Linked DNA regions of Homo sapiens: region 2 is linked to region 1. The links are contacts of gene promoters, found by promoter capture Hi-C in blood cells and fetal thymus (Javierre and others, 2016). All regions are on one chromosome and are shown on one strand. Each heading gives the region's core, a stretch centred on a gene start or on the middle of the fragment in contact. The rest is flanking DNA. Distances are from core to core; before and after follow the strand shown.

Region 1 (3,553 bases), core at 288-2,787:
GGGCATATAAGTTGTTTCAAACATTTACTATTACAAAACTTCTGCAATGCATATCCTTTTATATCTATCATTACACATTTGTGTGTTTCTGTATGACAGATCTCTAGAATTGAGATAGCTGGGAGAAATGTATGTGCATTTTGAATTCTGGCAGGTATTGCCAAATGCTTAATGGCCTGCCAAAAAGACCTTGTCTTTTGACTTCATCTGGAATATTATTGACTTCATTCAGAATATTCCCATTACAAGAAAGTGGCCAGTCTCTCCGAGGAACAAACTGTTTTCCTTTTCCACCATGAAATAGATCTTATCTTTTCATTAGTTAATATAGGTGTACCTTCAAATGGCAATAACATTGTTCTGCTTTGTGGCTTCTCAAGTAGTAAACCCAGAAAACATCAGCTACCGTGGATTTTATTATAAATCATTGACATTCCTTTGGTGATTCACAAATGCCAAAAAATAAATGTCATGTTCCCCAGGGTTTGAAGAAAGACACTGTAGCTTTTGGATTCAGCAACGGATCTTTCAAGAAAACAGTATGGAGGGATGACTCACTCCCCCCATGGAGGCTGCCCTCTAGTTCGTCCTTTAGAGGAAGCATGACCAAGGGTCTGCTGGTACTTTTCTCTCCCTCTCTAAGAATTTCCTCAGGAGAGGAAAAAGTTAGCTTTCTTTTCTCTGCTCCTGAGTGCCATGGCCTGCAGTACGTGACCAGTCCTTGGCACAGAGTCACTCAGGGCTCATGGTAGATGCTTAGCGGTCACAGCCAGTAGCTGCGCAGTGTGGCAGCAGCTGAGATCCATACTGCAGCCTGAAAGTTGTGTTTCAGCTTCTGAGGTTACAAGTGTATCCAGTGTTTACATCAGAGATAAAGCCCCCTTTCCCCTCTCTCCTACGGGAGCCCTCAACAAGACAGATACACGGGTTGGGTGGAGTGAGACCACATCCAGCAGAGGCAAAGCTTGCTAAAAGAGAGAGGAGGAGGAGGGGGAGAGGGAGGAGGCGGCACGGCGTCCCTTGGCAGCTCCGTGCATGCTGCGGCAGTTGCAACAGGAGAACCGAGTACCAGTTGCTCAACACTTTATCACTTTGCATTGCTCTTTCTCCTCCCTTAAGTGAATTTCCATTTTGAGGGTACAGCTCCACAGGAGAAAGGTGTGGTGGTGGTAGTGGTGGAGGGTGTCTGTGGGGGGGATGGTGGTGCGACGGGAGTTGGAATGTCCAGTGTGGGGAAGCAAAGGAGTGCCTACTAGGATGCGAATACCACTTGGCCCTGGGCTCGCTCCGCTTTAGCCTTCCCCTCTCGCTGGGGAGAAACAGGCGGTTTGTGAGGGAGACTGAGAGAGGGGCGTGTTTGTGGTGGTGGCGGCCCATCGGGGGTCCTTGTCCTCTCCGAATACCCGGACTGCTGAGGGGAAGGGCCGGGGGGGCCCCGGCGGTTGCCATGGTGACGCAGGGTCGGCGGCTCAGCGCCGTAGAGACAAAGCCGCCCGCCCGCCAGCCCGCTAGCTCCTCGCGCGAGCTCCTCCTCCACGGGAACCTCCCTCCCCTCCCAGGCGCCGCCGCAGCCGGAGCGGCTCCCGGGCCCTGGGCCGCCGCCGGCCAGGTAAGGCGATCGCGCCCGCGGCCGGGGAGGGGTCGGCGGGACGCCGGGCCTCCCCAACGCTGGGGCAGCAGCCAGCCCCGCAGTCCTGGACGGCGCCGGGCCGCCCAAGCGCGCCGAGGAGAGGGGGCGGCAAACTTCGGGCCGAGCGGCGCCGGGGCCCGCGCGCGGAGTCTCCCTCCGGGCACCACGGGGGCCGCCGTCCTGGCACCAACTTGAGGGGCTGTGCGGCGGAGGGCGGCTGCGGAGCGCCCGCGCGGGCTGCACCTGCTCAGGGAGCTGCCCCTCTGTTGTTGTTGTTATTTTCCTTCTTGGCGTGCCATCGAGGCTTTTGGGGGAAAAAAAGGTATGAAAGTATTTACCTTTGGACTTTCATGTTTCATGGCATTCTCTTTGAGGAGGGGTTGGGAGGGTAGTAAGAGGGACAAGCGAAAGATTTTTACGAATCTCTGAAAAGTGAGCCCATTTTTATGCCTGTGGCTGAAGCATTTTGAGGAGGCTTCTGAAGTTCGTTTGGATATTGAATCGAAAGACCTTTTTTTCTTTGGAAGGTGCAGTTGCACCTATAACTGGATGGTAAGGGTAGCCCGGCTTTCCCCGACTAGCAAGACCAGAATGTAGAGCAGTACCGATACTTTGTCAAGGAGATACTTGGCACCGAGGTCATTGCTTTTGTTTCTAGAAGGTATTGTGTTCATGCTGTAAGGAACTGGAAAGTGCCTTTTGTTTTTATGTGTAGGGAGGCAATCCAAAGCACCTCTGGAGGCAGGTAGCTGGGCGGTGTTTGCATCGGTGTTTATGAGTGGGATGATGAGGACCACGATGCGGTTGCCACTGGGGCACTGGATAGGTTATAGGTACCTTTCTCAGTGGCCCCAACCCTTGCAATCATTTCGTGATAGTTTGTTGCAGACGCGAAGCACAGATTTAAATTGTGACTGTGAAGACTTTTTTTTTTGGTACTTAGACATCATCTTACATGTAGTAATATGAAAGAAAACAGATACATTTTCAGAAATACAGTTGATCAATTCAGAAGGAAATTGTATATATGTTAATAAGATTTGTTTTAAATCATATTTAAACAATATGAGATGTCATATTGATAACTGGAAAATAATCTAACATATAAAATTGTATATCCAACTTAGTAAAATAATGTATAAGTTGGAATAGGTCATTTAAAGAACTATATGGAATGCAAGAAATTATATTTTTGCTAGAGAGTAATTAATGAAAACAGTACCACTGATCATTTTGAATTGCAGTTAAGTTGATTGGAATTCTGCATATTACAGCTACTTGAGGTGTCAGGCAAAGAGTGATTATTTAATATTCCTCTTCCCTCTTTTGGGATTTCAACACCTGTTAGCCTGCTGATTACTAGGTTTCTCAGTCTGTTCATATTTGCCAGCAACTTCAAGTAATGCCACTTCATTAGAAGATTGTATTGGAAACTAAAGGATTGAAGTTGCAATTAACAGTTTGCAGGTTATTTCACAATTGGGCTTGTTTTTAAACTGAATTTTACCTGTGGAAGATTCACAGATGCTCTGCTAAATACTCTTTCATGACGGTAATAAAATCGTACATTGATTAAAACGAAGTAGATCTGTTTTGAGAAGATAAACGGGAGAGAAAAGTATTTTCTCACTTAAGCATGAACAGCAAATAGGATATTGAAGCCTAGGCACATTATATAGACAGAGAATGTAGTTTTATGTTTTGTACTAAAAATAAATTATTTTGTGTGTTTGTGTGTGTGTGTGTGTTTTTTTTTTTTTCCTGAGGGACCAACAGAACAGCTTTATTCAGATCTTTGTTAGCAAAACCAGTATTCAAGTTCAAGGACTTGGTCCGTGCTTTCTGCCAGATGAAACCCACACTGTGAGTTCTAGCCTAAACATTTATGTTGTGGCCCTTAATCTGAGTGCTGAAGAACGGAGA
Region 2 (3,553 bases), core at 741-3,240, 1.5 Mb after region 1:
TGCAGTTGGGTGTTGAGTAATCTAAAATTGAGAGACTGCTAGGGTTTTTGTTGAAATGATATTTTAAAAACTAAATAGGGAATCCCATCGAGAGATAGTAGAAAGGCAAATTAACATTTTAACTCGCTCTTCTAGGCTTTTAAAACTGAATGTACTTAGATAATTTGTTCACTCCTTGTAACTACAACAGCCTATTAGAAATTATTTTGGCCAGATCCTGGCTGGATTCTGTAGCTACTTGCATGTGTTACTCTGACTCTTACTGTCTTTATGTAGTCCCTTCTGCCTTAAGATCTATCTGCTTTTTGCTTGAGACTGTCCTGAGACCAGCAGTCTTTGACGAGAAGAGTATTTGTGGCTCTTCCCTCCTGGGCTTGGAGTTGTATCCCTCATAACAACGGGGTTATGCCGTGTGGGGATGGCGGCGCAGACAGCCTTCCATAGGTGGTAAACTATAACTGTGTCATTTGTGACTGACAGAACAAAAGGGCTTTGTTGCCACTTTAATTGTTGATTAATGATGATCCCTCTCAAATTTGACACGGTTGCTTTCTAGAACACAAAAGAAGTCAATGTCAGATGTTTCCTTGATCATGACAGTCATGATTTTCAGGCAGTCTTGGTTCTCTGACATTTCAGGATGCCATAGAAGATTTCAAGAAACATAATTGAATAATTTTATTAATTGAATAAAAAACTGTACTGCATATTACTTTTCATACTGTTTGTGCAGGATGTCACCAGCTACCTGAGATTTATATGCACCAAGTCATGTTTTATTTGGGAAAAAGTTCATATCTTGTAGATATTTAGTGCTATTATCTTCGATTTTTTAATTTTTTTCCTCCTCTTTCCTACCCCCCTAATCCTTCCCTGGAATTAAAAAAAAAAAAGATTCACCTTTCTCTCTGATGCCTGTTTTCCACTTTAGTATTCCAAGGGAGTGAAGTGTCTGCGAGCAAGAATGGTGTCTTCCTGATGTGGTGGTGATGTTTGGATTTGCAAGGCTTGCCTTGTCCTTGGGCTGGCTTCTTCATGGATAGAGCTGATGAATATATTTTTAAGTAGTTATGTCAGCGTTCCTAAGGGTGACTCACAGTTCTGAAGTAAGTTAACGTGTTGCCTAAATGAGTTACTCCTCATTGGAAGGGCTAAGTGGAAGGAAATGCAGATTACAGATTGTATTGCTACTATTTAATCTTTAAGGGAGTAGGGGAGTGGATTTTTGGAATTGTGATATCTTTCTAAAATATATATGAATGAATTTTTCACCTTCCCCTCCACCTTCTAAAGTGCTAGGTGGTAGTACTAGCACTTTAAAAGTCAGTATATTTTGCTGTTTTACTGGCAGTTAGAAAGTTGGCGCTAGAAATCTTTAGCAATACTGACAGTTTGGAGATTTAGATTTTACTTCTCCAAAATAATCAGGACTTTTCATCTACTCTTACGAAATGATAGATCCAAAAGATTTATTACAGAAATTACTACATTCAGGTACCACTTGTTTTTTTAAGAGGAGGTCAAAGATCACAGAAGCTTGGAGCTAGAGAGAGCCTTAGCTTCCCTTTTTAAAATAGTCCTTAAAAAAACCACCTAAGAAAAAAAGACCCAGCTTGCCCTAGGTGACAAGTTAGGTGAACTAAACTCAGGTTTTGTGACACCACTACTCTTTTGCTTGTACCACTGACCAAGCAAAACATCATAATGTTTCATCTTGAGGGGAATTCAACTAACAAAAGATTTCTTTACGCAAATTCCGGCTATGGCAAATGTTTATTCTAAATAGCTTCCTATGTAACTTAATTAAGACAAGTGCTGCAAATATTTAATATCCTGCGGTTTTTTGCATAAACAAAGTGTTCCATCAGTTTATGTGTAAAGCAAGAAATGAGGCTGTGGACCACTAGGGCTCCATCTCCAGAAGTACCATAAAGCAGGCATTCTGCGTAGGATAACTCTGCTTACAGAGCCAGCTGACCTCCCGTTTTGTCATTGTGTGATGCCCTCCCATTCTGGTAAATCAAACCCTGACCGTTTAAAACTGTGGGAACTGGGTGGACCTTGCGCTTAGAAGGATATGGTCTATGCTAGTGCCTCTCATTACAGAGTTTGCTATGAATTGGTCTCTGCTAGCCTCTGGGTTCACTTGAGGATGTGTTTATTTTCTCTTTACTGTTCAGGATGTTTACAACCATTCTGTGTGGTTTGCTCGCAACCGCACTTGCATTTGAATTTGGTGGGCAGCTTGCCCTGGGTAGAGGGTATCCCTTGCCCGACCCCCCACAACCTCCAGTGCGCACACACACGGGCACACTCTTGTTTCTTTGAGTGGCTGCCAGGTTTGTAGTGTGTGTGTCTGGGGGGCGAATGGAGTGGGTAATTATTTTGGGGATGGAAACACAGGAAATTTTTTTTTTTTTTGAATAGGCCTTTCAGCAAGTTGGCAAAGCTTCAGGGCCAGCTCCCACACCGGCACAAAGAGCGCAGCCATGCCGGTCATTTTGCATTTGCCAGACACGAACTGTCTGATTTTTTTTTTTTTTTTTTTTTTGAATGAACAGACCCTCCCTCCCACCCTTTCCTTGCCCTTTGTTTAGAATTGGGATGTAATCTAAATAATTGGATTTACCAGCTTACGTTTTTAATATTGGAAAATTGAGTTAATAAAATGATGTTTTGGCATGTACTTCCCTCAGCAAGGGAACAGCTGTGCATTCACTTTAAGCCGCCTGGTCCCCCTTGCTCCTGCTTGATCCAGCTGATTTGTGTGTCACGCCATGCCCTTCTTGGGTTTGCAGGCTATCAGAAATCCTGGACAGAAATAGGATTTAATTAACCTGGAAATTGCTGTTGTGCCGCAGTCAGGGCTACCCTAGAGATTGAGTGCACAGATAGCAATAAGCTGGTTAACTCTACACTGTTGATGACCCCAGAGGAAACCTGGAGAAACAGTGCCACCCTTGTGTGAAGCTTCTAATGGCAGGATGCCCAGGAAGCTTCTAAATCAATCATTTGGGGAGGAAGGGGCACAGGGAGGGTATTACAAAAGAAAAAAGTATTTGGCATAGGACTGTTAGTTCATCCCTGGGGTTTCTTTACAAGCATGGTCTCGTGATTTATTGGTTAACTTTCCAAATAATGTTAGTGTGTATCTTGCTGTGCTCCTTCGTTCTCATAAAGGTGCTATATATTTTATTTTAACAACAAACAATGAAGATTGATTTTGGTAAATTTTTAAGCGGTGATACCTAACAGCAAGTGAGAGGTGGCTGTGGGAGGCTTAGCAGAAAAAGAAAGTCACCTTCCATGTAGCTTAGGGAGTGGATGGATGGGGAAAGGACAATAGGGATCTTTCCCCCTTCGAGCTCATGCAGCTTGATCAGGAAGTACAAATACTCTCTGATGTATGTGGTGGTCTTGTTGCATGAGGTGTGTCAGGAGCCGCCTCTTGGGCCCAGCGACTGTGGCCTGGGAACAGTTGTGCTGTGTGAGGCCATGTGGAATACAATGAAATGCCAAGGGTTAGAAAAGCGCCTTGTGCCACAGGGTGACT

What was found. Contacts are between HindIII fragments. The CHiCAGO score rates a contact against its expected background, and 5 or more counts as called.
Region 2: a contact is called between a fragment that was not itself captured here and the fragment with the promoter of RNF182 in region 1, in 1 of 17 cell types (total B cells). The highest score is 5.1, in total B cells.

The regions. Positions count from the first base shown.
Region 1 is chr6:13,923,415-13,926,967 of GRCh38, forward strand. It overlaps RNF182 (ring finger protein 182), which reads left to right and starts at 1,538. Exons shown (of 3, transcript NM_152737.4): 1 at 1,538-1,609. RefSeq lists an enhancer at 433-933. The HindIII fragment of the contact is 2,801 bases long and covers 963-3,553 here.
Region 2 is chr6:15,442,207-15,445,759 of GRCh38, forward strand. All of the region lies in intron 3 of JARID2 (jumonji and AT-rich interaction domain containing 2), which reads left to right. Among named protein-coding and RNA genes, the nearest start is that of DTNBP1-AS1, 100 kb to the right of the region's middle. RefSeq lists an enhancer at 2,318-2,818. The HindIII fragment of the contact is 913 bases long and covers 1,535-2,447 here.